Linked DNA regions of Homo sapiens: all the other regions are linked to region 5. Evidence: promoter capture Hi-C in 16 types of primary human blood cells and fetal thymus (Javierre and others, 2016). All regions are on one chromosome and are shown on one strand. The core of a region is centred on a gene start or on the middle of the fragment in contact, and the rest is flanking DNA. Distances in the headings are between cores, read along the strand shown.

Evidence for each region. Contacts are between HindIII fragments. The CHiCAGO score rates a contact against its expected background, and 5 or more counts as called.
Region 1: a fragment that was not itself captured here is called in contact with the fragment with the promoter of ANKRD55 in region 5 in 3 of 17 cell types (total CD8 T cells, naive CD8 T cells and naive B cells); the score reaches 5.7 in total CD8 T cells.
Region 2: a fragment that was not itself captured here is called in contact with the fragment with the promoter of ANKRD55 in region 5 in 1 of 17 cell types (naive CD4 T cells); the score reaches 5.4 in naive CD4 T cells.
Region 3: a contact is called between a fragment that was not itself captured here and the fragment with the promoter of ANKRD55 in region 5, in 1 of 17 cell types (neutrophils). The highest score is 5.3, in neutrophils.
Region 4: a fragment that was not itself captured here is called in contact with the fragment with the promoter of ANKRD55 in region 5 in 3 of 17 cell types (total CD8 T cells, naive CD4 T cells and total CD4 T cells); the score reaches 6.4 in total CD8 T cells.

The regions. Positions count from the first base shown.
Region 1 is chr5:56,855,985-56,859,367 of GRCh38, reverse strand. It overlaps MAP3K1 (mitogen-activated protein kinase kinase kinase 1), which reads right to left. Exons shown (of 20, transcript NM_005921.2): 2 at 2,618-2,768. It also overlaps the pseudogene LOC124901214. Among named protein-coding and RNA genes, the nearest start is that of MAP3K1, 42 kb to the right of the region's middle. The HindIII fragment of the contact is 944 bases long and covers 898-1,841 here.
Region 2 is chr5:56,872,565-56,875,949 of GRCh38, reverse strand. MAP3K1 (mitogen-activated protein kinase kinase kinase 1) reads right to left here. Exons shown (of 20, transcript NM_005921.2): 8 at 3,228-3,309; 9 at 2,945-3,125; 10 at 640-918. Among named protein-coding and RNA genes, the nearest start is that of SETD9, 35 kb to the left of the region's middle. The HindIII fragment of the contact is 707 bases long and covers 961-1,667 here.
Region 3 is chr5:57,134,394-57,137,681 of GRCh38, reverse strand. No RefSeq gene overlaps it. Among named protein-coding and RNA genes, the nearest start is that of GPBP1, 38 kb to the left of the region's middle. The HindIII fragment of the contact is 3,215 bases long and covers 1-3,208 here.
Region 4 is chr5:56,838,028-56,841,469 of GRCh38, reverse strand. All of the region lies in intron 1 of MAP3K1 (mitogen-activated protein kinase kinase kinase 1), which reads right to left. Among named protein-coding and RNA genes, the nearest start is that of MAP3K1, 24 kb to the right of the region's middle. The HindIII fragment of the contact is 4,132 bases long and covers 1-3,442 here.
Region 5 is chr5:56,231,220-56,234,606 of GRCh38, reverse strand. ANKRD55 (ankyrin repeat domain 55) reads left to right here and starts at 1,277. Exons shown (of 12, transcript NM_024669.3): 1 at 1,277-1,366; 2 at 1,661-1,751. The coding sequence starts at 1,694. The HindIII fragment of the contact is 3,640 bases long and covers 1-1,987 here.

The DNA.
Region 1 (3,383 bases), core at 120-2,619, 620 kb before region 5:
AAAAATAAGCACTCATAACTTCTACAGTCAACTTATTCAACTACTAGATCAAAGATCTAGGTACGTTTTTATTTGTTTTTACAAAATGTAGGACCTTGAAACAACACTGGGCATAATTTCAAATAGTTTGATCACTATGCAATCATTTTCCCTGCTTTGTGTGTGTGTTTCTTTACAATGTTATATTACAATAATAGGTTAGATGTGTATCTCAGAAAACCAAAAGAGACTAGAAGTTTAAAGATCAATTTCTCAAGCAGAAATGCAGTTTACAAGACCTGCCTTTTTTTTTTTTTTTTTTTAATTAAGGCTTTCAGACCTAATCTAGCCATGACCAAAGGCCAAACTCCACAGCTTTGTACAACTGAAGCTCAGCAGACCTTTCTGGACTTTCTCCCACTGCTCCTGTTCTATAGCCAGTTGCTGTGTTCACCAAACTTGCCTGACCCTTCCTCCTCCTGTGCTTTCACTCACTCTCCTCCTATTTTAATACTCATCTCCAGCCTGCAGCACCCCAGGCAGTACACCTTCACATGAGGAAAATTTACCCATCTTTCTACGCTGAGTTAAAATTCTTCCTTTTATGAAACTTCCCTGAAGTCTACCAGCAAGACATTCCTTCTCTTTCCTAAGTCCCTATTGCTCTTCTGCCCATCCCACACATTTGGCACCTAGTCACAAGTTGCTTTGTGATATTTCATGTATTACTCTATTTATTATGTATAAGTCTAATTTTCCCATTTGGAGATATTTACCCTTTATGTTTCAAGAATGATTTGACACAACTTACTTAAAGTATAAAAACAAACAAAATCAGACCTCCCAAGTAAACAGTAAACTTCCTAAGGATAATACGAAATCCGTAAATCATAAAATGTAGGGTGGCATAATTAAGCTTAAGGACTATGTGTTATGCATCTTATTCCACACATCTCCTCCCTCTTCACTCATGTCTTATATACAGACAAGGTACTTTGGTACTTGCTAGAAAGTGAACAGTATAAAAACCAAAATTTTGTTTTAGAGAACTGGATATTCTTAGTTCATGTATAATAAAGAACAAATAGCTGGCTCATTTTTAAAAAGTTGTGATTTATGCCCTACGGTATTCTCAAAAGATTTAGGCTGTTTGAACACCTCCATCTAAAGGAGCTCAGAAAGCAGCACATTCAAACTTCAGATGGCTCTGCTTGTTCAAAAGTTCTTTATATTGATTGAGTAGTAATATGCCCTTTTAACTGCCAACATTCTACAAGATGTTTCAATAGCACTTTCTCTTCTCTAAGATAAATCCTTAATTTCTTCATATTCACCTTCTGGCACGAATAGCTAAAATGGTGAGGGGTTCCCACCATACCACCTCACGTGAGTAATAAATGGAAGAAATGTAGAAACTTAGCTGTAAAGACAAGGACTCACGGGCCCATAATAACTTACCAAGTGCTGGTATGGAAAGGAACAATTAGATTTATTCTGTATAATTCCATCGGTTAGAATGAGAACCAGTGGGTAAAATATTCCTGACAGACTGCAGCTCAGTGATGAGGATATCGAAAGCCACAGGGATTATTGAGTTATTTAAGTCAGACACGAGTCAGTACTACACATCTAAGAGAGCTTTCTGAGGCAGTGAAAATGTGCTAAAACTGCACTGCCTAAAAGGTAGCCATTGGCCACATGTGGTTACTGAGCATTTGAAATGTAGTTGGTGAGACTGAGGAACTAAATTTTTACTTTTATTTACATCTAATTAATTTAAATGTAAACTTAAATAGGCATATGGGATGAATGTAGGGCAGACAATCACTTGGCAGGGGTGTATTTAGACCCTTGTCAAAGCTTAGATGAATTTTAAGTTGCCATATCTGTTTTAAAAGAACAAAATAAAAACTTGCTGAGAGAGATTAGTGCTAGGATACTGTAATACTTCTTCCTTTGTAAGAATGAAGACACACATTTCATGATGGTATTCTTATAAGAATATATATTCTTATACCTATAGCAAAGGACAGAGTATCCCTGCTTTTTAAAATCTAGGACTCTAGATTTTCTTTCATCAAACCCCACACATTTTTAATTTATCTTAATCCCCATAGGTCTATTAAACATTTTTTCATGTCAAATGAGGATAACATGCTGACACTGTAACAAAGTTGGAGAAACGCACATCTTATGCATGCATGTGAAAACCCAATCATTACACTTATGAATTACTGCAATTAAATGTTTTCTTTCCTAGAAGATTTCTGAAATTAAGATCCTTGGATCCTGTCTTAGAGATAAAACATCTAAAATAAACTGGAAAAATTCTTTTTAAAATTTACAAGTACAGTATAAAACTCCAATGAAAGGATTTTAGATACTGACATGAGAGGGCAGTCTTGGTTTAAGCATTTACCCCTCCACCAAACACAACAGTTAAGTTCCCAGAATAGTTTAAGTTGTTTAATGAGCACAGTTTTAATTATGGTTTCTTCCAAATGACCACAATATCAAGTAAAGAAAACTACTACATTTAAAATGAAGAAGAAAAGCTTACAAGAGGATCTATTTATGCTTACTTTTCCATTTCCTCCTATGCTTTCTTCCTTATAACTGGTAACCCATAGCCACTTACCACAGGCCCTCGCCTATTTCTCCTTTCCAACCATTCGTGCTTCCAGGCTGGCATACAGGTTGCCTTCAGTTTCTCCCTGATCATTCGTTCCTCTGGACGATCATCCATCTTGTGCAACCCTTTGAGAGTTTCTTTATTCTCCATCTCACGACTAAAATGCAGGCAGAAACAAATAAAATGAGAAATGTATATATGAAAAATAATTTCCAAGAACAAACAGAATGGATGGTTCTATTTTATACTTCCAACGGACATGTAATAAAAAAGATAACTGCTAAAAACCCCAAATGACTTAAAGCTTGAAAAGATTCTGAATTATATACTACTGACATATATCATGCAGACCTATGTTCCACTGTAGTTAACAAAATGAATCCCAAGACATTAAGCACTATATTAACAAATATATTCACTAAGACTGCATTGTTTTTAATTCTACCACCCAAATAACAAATATTTAGAAGGGTGTATTACTACACTTTTATCCCAGGATTTCCAATAAATTAAGTCAATACAGATAGAATCTGGTGGATATGCTGATTTATCTGAAATAAGCTCAATAAATATTTAATAAGTGAAGTGAAACTTAACTACATCATCTATGACCCCAAAACAATTTTTCATAGCCTACATGATTAAATTTTTATTTTCATAGAACAGTGACTTCATAACAAAGCACTTGGGGTACTCTATAAAGAATAAAAATTATCCAGTACAAACATTTGATCTTTACTCCATAAAATGGTGTGGATTTACCAGAATAAAA
Region 2 (3,385 bases), core at 65-2,564, 640 kb before region 5:
ATGTTTATTAAAAATCAATCAAAATGTTTATTAAAAACATATCTTCCTTAATATCTGATAAATTTTTTAAAAAATCAGAATAACGTTGATGACTCTGCCATCCCAAAAAGCATTTTTAATTTGGTCATGTATAAGGTATCTGCTCAGAAAAATGTACAGATATGAACAGCAAGACATTAAAAAAATCTTTAAAAATTAGCAAGCTTGTCTAGCTCACCCTATTTGTTGTTGTTCTGTTTTGTTTTGTTTTGTTTTAGGCTTTAGCAGCCTGAAGCCATGGTTTTTAGTCTGTCTCTAGTGGTAAGTGGAAAAGGAGGATGAGGAAGGAGCTTTACTGGCCCAAACAGAAACTAAGAAACCATGACTATATTCTCTCCCTTGGATACCCCTGCAAAGCCTTTAAAACAATGAAACTAAAAAGTAAAACAGTTATATAAGAAACCTTGGACATCATAAAAATCAGTAAAATTCAAATAAACAAAACAAAAGCTGTAATTTCCTGGAATTATGGAATAAAAATAAAATTTGGATTTTCCAAAATTAGGTAAAGTAGCTTTATTGTATCTTAAAAACACTATCTACGAACCATCAAAAAACCCCAAACCCATAATGATATGATTATGGAATAAAGCTACTTACTAAAGCAGCAACGTACACTTTGTAGACAGGGTCAGCACAGACCATTGACAGAACGCTGCAGCATGCCTCCACCACATCTCCTGAGATACTGGTCTGGGAAGACCCACTGGTGGCTCCCCCACTCGGGCTGCTTCCACTGCTGCCCCCAGAATTTCCAGTGCTCTCCCCATTTGCCAACAGCAGGGCCCCACTGACATCATGGGAAAGACGCCTGAGGGCCATCTCTCTCACATTCCAGTTTCTAGAAAATAAGCAGCCAACGAGTTCCATTCCAAACACCTGTATCAAACACACACGATGAATTCAATGTAAAGAAAAGCTTATGGACCCAGAGCATTTTGAGTTTAGCATCATTTTTGATTACTACGTAAAAACTGGACATTTCTGAAATCTTTACCATCCTTCACAACTTCAAATATATCCAGCCACTTAAGCATCATAAGGAAGAATTTTATACTCAAGTTTAACTGATAATTATCCAAAGTCATTAATATTTATTAGCTCAGGTAAAATTAATAATAAGCTCCATTAAGTCACTAGATGGCTATACATACATTCTATGCCTCTACTGTCCCACATGCTTACCAAAACGCCAAAAAACTGTGAAAACCTCAACTCTGTATTCATATTAAGGTAGTTTAAAGAGAAAAACTGGAGCAAGATTAAGAAAACAAACAAACAAACAAAAAACAAATCAAAAAAAGCACCAGGAGAAGGTTTCAAGAGATATAGAGTATTTCTCTTACAGACAAGAGCAATAAGCAAAACACATTTAATTGGTTTTTGTCTGTATAAAAAGGTTTAAAAAACTAGACAAAACAGGTAGGACTGTAAAACGAATGGAGTGGACAAATCAAACAACTGAAGAAAAAATGCTTGTGTTCGAGTAAGCAAAGGATAAATGTAGACGTAGAATTATAGTATATGCTGTTATCGTCGTCAATACCATGCCCCAAAAGCCAGAGTCCCTACAGTGAGGAAAGGGTGAATGGTCTTGACATTATGGGCCAATTAGCTAAAAGTAAGCTTAATACCTAAGATAATTCATTATGTGAAAAATGCCTAAATATTAAAGATGAATAAACACAACTTTTGAAAAACAGATCATAACATACTTATTTACATATGTTTTGTTATAAAGGGATATTATGGGAGAATGAACCAACTAGAATATAGTGAGCTTCTGGTACTGTTAAGTAGTGTACCACTACCTATGTTTTAACTGTCTTACCTAACATGCTTAATAAAAAGCTAGGAATGTAGAGCCTAGTCTGACCTAAAGCTTAGGCAAAACAAACTAGACCATATGCTTGAAAGAATGAACTCTAACAGCTCAGAATCAACTTGAGAGTTCTTTGATGGGTCATGAAAGGGCAGGTGAGGGCCTATGTTCATTAATAGTTCATTAAATTTCATTAATGAACTAGGTACAAGAATGTGTTTAATATTTTTGCAGATTTTATTAGATTCATAAATGGGTTGCTAATATGCTAAGAGAATTCCAAAGCTGCAGGACTGTAATGGTCACAAAAGAAAAATGTAACAAATCCTAATGATATATAAGCTCAATGTGTTAATGCACCTGTTCACAAATTTAATTCAACAGAATTTAACAGATTATTGAAAATAATTATTTTACTTTATTATTGTCTACTGGAGACCCGTCTGGTTTTAGATCCTACATTTAAAAAATAATAGACTGAGCATTCAACAACCAAGAAAATCATTACAAACCAACTGACAAAAAAGCCCTACTTACTGAGGATGAAAAAACATTCAATCAGAAGAGATGGTAAAGGGATGGGAAACTGTTCTTACAAATAAAAATGATGAACTCAAGGTAACCATCACATATTTTTTTCTTATTCATCTCCTCTGCAATTATTAAGCACCCATTGTATGCCATTAGGATATGAAAAGAGAAATTAATTTTAAATGGCAGCAAATAAGAAACATGATAAAAATTCTTGGCAGGCACGGGGATTAAACATTGGGAAAAGTTAGCATTGAAGGGTTCTGGTTTCTATCCTTCTATCCTTGAATAACCCCGTATGTCCGTTAGTTCAGGAAGAGATGTTTCTAGATATGTGAAGTGAAACCACAAGAAGTTTTGAAGTTGAAGCTGTACAATAAGCAGTATAGTATTAATACCAAAAGTAACATTAAAATTTCCAGTGGAATGAAGGTCATGATGGAGGCAAGTAAAAGTGTTTTTTTAAATTATGAACAACTGAGGGAAGGAGACAAATACATTAATTGATCTATAAATATTTCTTTGAGAAATGAAAAACAAAGAACTACTTACCTGAATCCATGGCTCAGCTAAATCTTTGTAAGCAGGAGGGATTTGCTGAGTTCCATAATGAGTAAGGTTAAAATTGCTCTCTTGATTCCTTCGTGATCCAGCCAAAGGCTGCTGCTGTACGGTTTGCTGCTGTGCAGCTCTGAGGGAAGAAGGGGAATCCACAGGACTTGACAACTCGTGGCTAAAATGAAAAATAACAAAACTTGCTTTAAAAAAATTAAGACAAACCACACTGAGAAATTTTTAAAAATTAAACATATCCGTATCATTTCAAAATTATTACCTGTAGAAATCATGAGATCTCCACTTAGATCTACAAAGGGGACATATTAAAGGTTCTCTATTTCTTCTACACTCTTCTGCCCCTGAAAAATTACAGAAACAAAATCTTACAAAAATGTAAATGTTTAACATTATTTTTATTTCATAACTGTTTATAAT
Region 3 (3,288 bases), core at 352-2,851, 900 kb before region 5:
TACCCAGGTGTTATCTGAAGTCTCCTACCTACGAGATCTAGACAAGATTGGCTTGAATGCTAGTTACTCACTATGAGAAGTCCAAAGCCCTCCCTAAGATTTCTGTGACTCTCTGGGAGGGAGGAGGTAGATGTTGGGGAAGGTATGACGTTCTCATGGTCACCTTTATATGTATAAACAAAGCATTTAGAACAAATCCTGGCATGCCTTGTAAGTATTAGCTATTTTCACCTCTTCATTTTTCTTCCTCCTCCTCCTTCTCCTTGACTTTCTCTGCTTCTGGCTTCCACTAAGCAGGGTCAGTTAATAGATTGTCACCTTATTTCTGACACAGCTGTTCCATTCTGCACCATGCGGATCCATTGGTTAATTTCATTACCTGTTTCAATTGATACATACTTATAATACCACTACTCACTCCACTGCTCACCTCCCACCCCACACCCACCTCCACAGATGTTATTATCTGTTAACATGAAGTTTGTTTTTTTTTTTTTAGACGGAGTCTTGCTGTGTCGCTCAGGCTAGAAGTGCAAATAGCACAATCTCTGCTCACTGCAACCTCTGCCTCCCAGATTCAAGCAATTATCCTGTCTCAGCCTACTGAGTAGCTGGGACTACAGGCGCACATCACCACAAATTTTTGTATTTTTAGTAGAGACGGGGTTTCACCATATTGATCAGGCTGGTCTCAAACTCCTGACCTCATGTGATCCAACCACCTCAGCCTCCCAAAGTGCTGAGATTACAGGCATGAGCCGCTTTGCCCAGCCAACATGAGGTATTTTTGCTTTTGTTTTTTGAGACAGGTTCTTGCTCTGTTGCCCAGGCTGGAGTGCAGTGGCAAGATCATGGCTCACTGCAGCCTCAACTTCTTAGGCTCAATTGATCCTCCCACCTCAGCCTCCCAAGTAGCTGCTACCACAGACACATGCCATCATGCTCAGCTAATTTTTTAACATTTTTTTTTCTAGAGACAAGGTCTCATCATGTTGCCCAAGCTGGTCTTCAACTCCTGGCCTCAAGTGATCCTCCCACCTCAGCCTCCCAAAGTTTGGGGATTTAACAGGTGTGAGCCACTGCACCCAGTACATTTTTGTTTTTTATCAGACTTTGATGAAAATTTTGGGAGTGAAAATGAATGAGGTATGGGTATTCACAGCTCAACAACATGAACCCTTCCACTTGAATACTAGATACTTCTTTTTTTTTTGAGACAGAGTCTTGTCCTGTCACCCAGGCTGGAATGCGGTGGTGCGATCTCAGCTCACTGCAACTTCTGCCTCCCGACTTCAAGCGATTCTCCTGCCTCAGCTTCCTGAGTAGCTGCAACTACAGGCGCGTACCACCACGCCCAGTTAATTTTTGTATTTTTAGTCTGTAGGGTTTCCCCATGTTGGCCAGGCTGGTCTTGAACTCCTGATCTCAGGTGATCTGCCTGCCTCGGCCTCCCAAAGTTCTGGGATTACAGGCATGAGCCACCGCTCCCAGCCAAATACTAGATACTTCTTAAAAGTTCTTTTCCAAGGAATTTTTCTTTTTCTTTTCTTTTCTTTTTTTTTTTTTTTTTTTTTCGAGACGGAGTCTCGCTCTGTCACCCAGGCTGGAGTGCAGTGGCGGAATCTCACAGGTTCACGCCATTCTCCTGCCTCAGCCTCCCGAGTAGCTGGGACTACAGGCACCCGCCACCTCGCCTGGCTAATTTTTTGTATTTTTTAGTAGAGATGGGGTTTCACCGTGTTAGCCAGGATGGTCTCCATCTCCTGACCTCGTGATCCGCCCGCCTCGGCCTCCTAAAGTACTGGGATTACAGGCGTGAGCCACCGTACCCGGCCCCAGGGAATTTTTCTATTGGCTTCTGACTCATATAGGTATTTAGTAACACCCTGGCTAGATTGTTTCTCTTCTCTCCTGGGTCTTGTATCATTTCAGTACCCTCTCCTTCCTGAACTGCAGCCCCCAAATGCAAATTCTTATTCTTTACACAGAACACAGCAGTTCTCACTGCTGTCTACTTCCAGGCTAAGATCTGGCCCCCGTTTTGCATATCCAAACACATCCAAATGTTCAGTAGAACAAAAAGGCTTTTATTTACCAGGCTCTACCCTCCTTTGATGGACATTATGGTTGAAAATTTCATTTTTATCTCATTTTTGCACAGGCAGATAGAGTGAGAGAAATTTAACAGGGACCTCAGAGAGAAGACAAACTGGGAGGGATGTGGAGCTTCCTAGGGAGGGGATTAACATTTGGAGAGCAAGTATCAGCAGTAACAGCAGTTTTAGGCTGGAGACCAAAAACCTGAAATAATCCAGTTCATGGAAAATGAGGCATACTAAGAATTCAGATCTAGCGAATGGAAGAGTAGACACAAGTTCCTGCAAAATGAGGCTTGTCAACCAACTCCATACAATAACTAGGGTACCTGATAAAGGTCCCCCATATTCTGGGCACTTGTATCGTACGGTCTGAAGAATGGGCAAGGAAGAAACCCCCAAGCCTGAAAAATCCATGTGAAAAGGGCCGGGTGTGGCGGCTGACGCCTGTAATCCCAGCACTTTGGGAGGCTGAGGCCGGCAGATCACCTGAGGTCAGGAGTTCAAGACCAGCTTGGCCAACATGGTGAAACCCCGTCTCTACTAAAAATACAAAAATTAGCTGGGCGTGGTGGCGTGCACCTGTAATCCTAGCTACTCTCGAGGCTGAGGCAGGAGAATTGCTTGAACCCGGGAGGCAGAGGTTGCAGTGAACCAAGATCTCACCATTGCACTCCAGCCTGAGGGACAAGAGTGAAACTCTGTCTCGAAAATAAATAAATAAATAAATAAATAATCCATGTGTAAAGGACTTAAGTAGGCAAGCATTCTAGGGGCTTGATACAGATCTGAAGACATTCTGACATGCATGATATGATTAATAATTGTTTTATTCCTGAGAGAAACAAGTGTGATTAAATTAAAACATTTGTTTTGGTTGTTTGGTTGGTTGTTTGTTTCTAGAGACGGGCGTCCTGCTATTTTGCCCAGTCTGGTCTTGAACTCCTGACCTCCAGTGATCCTCCTGCCTCAGCCTCCCAAAGCGTTGGTATTACAGGAGCGAGCCTTGATATTTGATAAAGGTAGCACCACAAAACAATAACAAAAGGATGGATTGTTTCTTAGGTGGCATGATAAACCTGGCTTACAGTTTTACAGAGAAAAATCAAGCTTGAACTCTCTTTTTATCGTGTGTAAAGGGGACTCAAAATGGATTCTACTATCTACTAAAATAATATTAATAGAAAATGCA
Region 4 (3,442 bases), core at 401-2,900, 610 kb before region 5:
TGGATCTGCAGACCCCTTGTACTAACTCAGGCAGTATATCAGTATGGGTGACATACTGTTACGAACTTTTAGACTCCTCCAATATTCACTATCATAGCAATTCAAACTTTATTACTAAGAGAGGCACGTATTATGTATAAGACTCTATCAAAGCTCTCAGAAAGTTCAGACAACTGTCAAGCAGAACATTCGAGAAAGTAGAGAGCACAAAGATTTTAAGATCGTTTTACATGAAAAATATTAACCTGTCTAGTTTTTTTTTTTTTTAAATCAATAAGCCATACATTTCTCTTCCTTAAAAGGCTTAACAATTTTGACCTCAGATGATCTGCCTGCCTTGGCCTCCCAAAGGGCTGGGATTACAGGTGTGAAACACCTTGCCCAGCCAATATGGCAAAACCCCATCTCTACTAAACACACACACAAATTAGCTGGGCGTGGTGGTGCATGCCTGTAATCCCAGCTACTCAGGAGGCTGAGGCAGGAGAATCGCTTGAACTCGGGAAGCGGAGGTTACAGTGAGCTGAGAACGTGCCACTGCACTCCAGCCTGGGTGACAGACAGAACAAGACTCCATCTTTAAAAAAAAAAAAAAAAAACCTTAACAATTTTGCATTTGCATATTTAAGTGCTGTAAGTCAAAAAGATGCAAAGTAGTAGCCTGAAATGAGACATGAAACATGGCGGCTCTCAGACCAAGTTTCAGTTCCAGTTGTTTTTACGTCCCAATGTGAATTCTATTAATAACTACTTCAGGCCAGAGCTCTCTGTAGCCACACAGCTGACTTTTCTCATAATCTGGAATAATGGTATCAGATACGCTTAATCTCAGTCAAGTTACAGAAGTTAGGGTTTTCTGTTTTTTAAAAGGAGAAAAGCTGGGATACAATATTAAAAGTCATACTAGTTTTCTGAGTGCAAATCTGAAAACACAGTTATTGCTAAAATATTTACAAGTTTTGTATTATTAAATAATGTTTTCAGAGAATACTTGCTATTCAGCCAATTAATACTCATTATTTGGCTGGACGCAGTGGCTCATGCCTGTAATCCCAGCACTTTAGGAGGCCGAGGCGGGTAGAACACCTCAAGTCTGGAGTTCAAGACCAGCCTGGCCAACATGGTGAAACCCTGCCTCTACTAAAAATACAAAAATTAGCCAGGTGTGGTGGCATGTGCCTGTAATCCCGGCTAACTGGGAGGCTGAGGCAGGAGAATCGTTTGAACTTGGGAGGCGGAGGTTGCAGTGAGCCGAGATCAGGGCACTGTACTCCGGCCTGGGTGACAGAGCAAGGCTCCATCTCAAAAAAACAAAAAACAAACAAACAAACAAAACGCTTATTTAAGTAACATGAGTAGATGTCAATGGCAAGTTACACAATAAGAGAAACTTTGACTTTAAAACCAACTTTACCATAGGCCAATTGATGTAAACAAGTGGGAAAGTTTCTATGGCATATTTCTGGTCACAAAAACATCACCAAACTTCTAGAGACCCCAAACACTTCTAACACTAAACACTGAAAAAATGTGAGCTGTAACATACATTTAAGAAACATTAATAAGATGATTATTTACCCACTTATTCCAGTTCAGGGTCACAGGTGGCCAGAGCCTGTCCCAACAATTCAGGGTGCCAGACTTGAACTAGCCCTGGGTAGGATGTCATCCCGTTGCAGGGTGCATTAACAAACACCCACATTCTCTCAGTCTGGGTCCTTGCAGACATGACAATGAACCTAACGTGCACATCTTTGGGGTGTCAGGGGGAAACCAGAGTACTGAGAGAAAATCCACCCAGAGATGGGGGGAGTATGCAAACTCCATACAGACAGTAGCCTCTGCCAGAAGAGATTTTTATCCTCATCAACTTTTTAGCAAAATTGTCCAAAATGTTCAACTAAATGACATTATTGAAGGATCTGCTATACTTTACACTGGAAAAATAAAAGGCAACTAACCATTGGTTAATATACCTGACACTATATATGTATTTTTTCACTTCAGGATCTTAATCTATCACCCCTCATGGATTATACCATTAATCTGTACACATAAGCAAGGATAAATCAATTTAGCATACAGTCCACCTCTTTTAAATACCACTCATGACTTGCATAATCCAATCGACAAGTGGAAAAAGCTGGAGATGGCTGATGCCTAGTAGTCAATTAAGCCACAACATCAAAAATGTCCCAATATACTAAAAATAATGACTATGCGAAATTCTCAAATGATGTCCTTTAATTCGGATACTGGTGTGTTTGCTGCTGTTCATGTACTCAACCTTTCACTAATGAGATACTATTGTTAGGAACTACAAAAAGAGCACCATATGGATTACTCTGAAGTAGGCCTTTGGATTCGCAACTTGACCTCAGGAATCCCTCCACTGACCTATGGCCAAGTTGTGATCAAGCAATCTCTGCACTAATATTATTCCCTAGGAAAACGAAGTCTCCCCAGAAGATCTCGACCAATGTCATATGCTCTTCAATCCCCTTCAATTATTTTTTGGAATAGTTCATTTCCTCCCAGCCATTTGCTCCTAGCTCAAAACAAAACAAAACAAAAAACCTTCTGGGCCAGTGAGTACATTAACATGATGGTAAGGTTTTGAGACTTGCCAAGTGCTGAATCATGTTTATGCTTAGGTTTTGTTTCTACACCTGGTTTTGGGGGCATAAACTCCCTCTAAGAATCCTAGCTACCCTAGTCAATCCACTGGAAGACGGGATCACTGCCCAGCAAATGCCACCCACTAAGGATTCAAAGTGAAACAAGATTCTTCGAATTGAATGGAAGAAAACAAAAGCTCTTCATTCAGTAGGTGGCACTCTTTCCTTAAAAATGTTAACTCAGGCAATCATTAATACCAAAGATGTCATCTGCCCACTAATCACTTGAAAGAGAAGGCACATTAACTCTAACATCCTGTCCTAAATATAGTCTGAATCATTACTGTCTTCCTAAATAATGTCTTCCTCATTTCAATGAGATCCTGGAGTTGTTCATAAATATGCCAATTTCTTTTCACTATAGCAAAAGCTACAATTTCATAGAACCAAATAATTGCATTTACTTTAAACTGGCAGGTTTTGACTTATGACTTTTCCTGCTATATGCTTCAAAAGACATTCATCATAACTGTTTTCTAATTTTAATGATTTCAGATATAAATGACAATTTGAATGGAAATGGGGCAAAGAACTGTACTTGTAACACAAATTGTATTACTCCATTTTAAAACAAGACAGCTCTTTTTCATAGGCATGCATATGAATATTCTTTTTAAAACAACAGCTTTGACTCAATTCATCATCACTCTGACTGATACCGGACCAAAGTTATCAACCTGAAAACTTTTAAACTGAAAAATGAAAACAGACTGACAGCTAATAAAATGTGAGTTTGCCTAGCATACAGAAGAAGCAAAAAATAA
Region 5 (3,387 bases), core at 28-2,527:
AAGTTCTTCAGTGAAGTTTCACTCATGCACTGAAATGTACTGAGCACCTCCTTTGTGCCCCTCTCTGTGCTAGGCTGTAAGGACATGGAGTGGACAAAGCAGACAAAGAAAGAGTAGACAAAGACCCTGCCCTTATGAAATGTACCCTCTTGTGGAGAAATATTTTAATTTGGGTTTCCGTAAAAGCAGACCCTGAGACAATGATTCCAATGCAAGTAACTTATTGAGAAGTGCAGGAAATATCAGTAGGAACGTGGGAAAGTAATACAGGGAGGGAACAGCAGCCCATAAAAAGAACGTTATTAGACCTATTCTCACAGGTGGCAGTGGAGTTTAACCCTGAAGGAGTTTAATCCTGAAAGGGAAATGGCAAACGGAGTAAAACACCATGCCTCAGAATCATCCTATCCAAGGGCAAAGGAAGCTGGTGTTTATTATTAGATTCAACAAGCATCTACTATATGGCTATTTGACTTATCCAAAAATCTGGTTGTGCCTAGAATATAGAACTTTGTTTGAATTTAGTATATCATATTTTTATTACAAATACAAGATAATAGATACTGGTTATTAACAAGCCAAAAATACAGAGATTGATACAGAACAAGTTAGAAATCTCCTACTCTAATCACAGTGGCCTGAGGGAACCAATATTAGCAGTTTAGTACGTATCTTTCTACATCTTTTTCAGTGTTCGTCTGAATATATAAAAATAATGTATACAGTGAGTGGTTTCCGGTTTTATTAAAACACGAACAAATGAAATATATAACTTGTTTATTTCATTTAACAATAGATTAGTGACATGTCACCAGATAAATACACAGATTTATTTATGTCAGATTTTTAAATCTAGAGTACGAATTTACTACCATTTACTTAGCTGCTCCCTGAATGAGGTACATTCGGGTGATTTTTCAGGTTTTACTACATGTAATGCTACAATAAACACCCTTGTGACAGCAGACTGTTTTAATTTTATCACCACAGACACTCGAGCCTTGAAATGTCACCTTTCAAATGACGCCTTTCCCCATCCTCCCTGTCAATTGGAGAACGGAGCTGAAAGGGGAGTGAAGAAGACTGCCAACATGGATAATTACTCCACACAGCACATGGCCAGCAGCCTCCTGCTACAATATTTACATCCTATTCCATTGAGATGGCACTCTCTGCTCACATGACCCAAATGCAGTTCTCACTCCGCCAAAAGCACAGCCGAATGCGAACTGCATTGGCAGCTTTGCACATGCTCTGTCTGGCCCTGTGAATCCTCACTCACCCATTCAGATTTCTGTTGGTGTAAAGCGACATTCCAGCTGCTGAAGCTCCGTGATCTGCTGTGTTTTTCCAGCCCAGATCCAAGGCAGGTGGCCCATACAATTTTACTATCTTTTTGGAGTTTGAGTAATTGTGTTTATTGATTTGGGGGTGGAGGGTGTATTATGCCCATGTACAGCTGATGAATGAGGCCATAGAGTAACTCTTTTCCTAGCAGGTATTTACAGGAATAGCATTTACCTATTTTCATCACCTTGCCTTGACAACAACCTGCAGCTCTGATGCACATTTAATCCTGAAACAGAGGTCTTGGCAAACGATGCTGCCTCTGACTGTCATGTTGACAGTAAGGTTTGAGATGGTGTTTTCTCCTCTCTAGAGACCTGGATGCTTTTTGCCATTCTGATGGTAAATGATGAGACAGGCTACCATGGATTTCAGCACCCCTTCTGTGTTTGATCAGCAAAGAGGTAAAATGCTGCTTTAACACATTCTTTGGTTGTTAGCATCCTTAGTCTCATGGTATGGATTTACAGTTGTAAGGAGAGAAAGAGAAGTGTGTGTGTGTGTGTGTGTGTGTTCATGTGCGTGGGTGTGCATGAGTATTTGCTATGTAGGATGTGGAAAGAGGATTTCACCTAGAAAACAAACCTGTTCAAAATGTTCACTTCTAGTTTGATAAGCATCTGAAACAGAAAAATAAGCTTATGATCTGTTGTATAAGCTTATGATCTTGTTGAAGTATTCCTACCTTCAAATTTTAAAAACTGGATTTCAAGCACACCAACTATTTCAGATAGTGTCATCTTTATTCTGTTTTTTCCAAATCTTTTTTAAAAATTAGGGTAAGCAATGTAAGAACACATCACATTTTTTTTGTCATTCGATTAGCCCAGTATCTCATTGCTGTATCTTCGTAAGCATTTTTTTATTCCTTTCAGGAATAGATGTTGCCTGTATTTATGTCGGGTTGATATGTTATCTCATCCAAGGTTGTGTAATGACATATCCCTATGCTATTATTTGCAATGCCAGGGTATATCTTCCTTACTTATAATTTCTGGAGTGGAGGTAATTTTCCACATCAAAATGTTGCTGTGAGATCAACTTATCCTTATAATATCACATATTTGGCCATGTGGTCTATGTGTATACATTTTGCATATGCAATGTGTTTATATACATCTTCGTGTAATACTTATGTGTAATAGTAAATCTTTTTTTAGTATAAACATGAAATTTCCATTTTATAAACATAATAAATATTTTTTAGAATCTTTTCTTAAATATCTATTATTTAAACCACTTTCTACAGTCTCTGAATATTCTTCAAGATCCTAAGTTCCTTTGGTGATTTTATCTGTTTTGGCTACAACATGAAATGGTGGTTTGAAAAAGCCTCATTAAGAAAATGTACTGCTTCATTCTTTTTTCCCTTTTCCTGCTCTAGGCCATAGCATGTTTATTACCCCTCAAGCTACATCTGGCTTTGTGGGTGAATTATTTTAGCCCAGGGGGTTTCTCCAAAAATAAATTTATATTTAGATTCCTGAGTTAGCTAATGTATATATGTGTATAGTGTGTTCTCCAGGTCTTAGCTCATTTGGAATAGTGTTTGTGTATGTGTATGTGTGTGTGTGTGTGTGTGTGTGTGTGTGTGTGTGTGTGTGTGCGCGCCTTCAGAACGTGCCGGCTCATACCGTGTTTGGATCTGAACAGCATAGAGAAAGGCGTTGTCACAGCTGTGCCCACCACCATCCTCTCCTCCTGGTACATTTTATATCACTGATGGCAGTCAGTAAAAGTGAAAATCTGCTAAGAACCAAAGAGCTCACACTGGCTGAAAAATGATGTTGCTAAGCCACGAAACATACAATGGGTTTATTTTTGAAGACTAATTGGAGGGAGCTGGGACTGACTGAAGAAGAACTAGCTCTTCATAATGAATTTACATGTTCCAGTGCTGTACCTTCTAACAGGATTGAGCCCCAAACATAGTTAAGATACAGAATTACAAGACTGATTTTCTTTTAACACCTTTCATGTGAGCAATTCACAGCAATTCCTCCACCTGGGCCGGATTCTCTCCCATGGAAGTTAACCCTC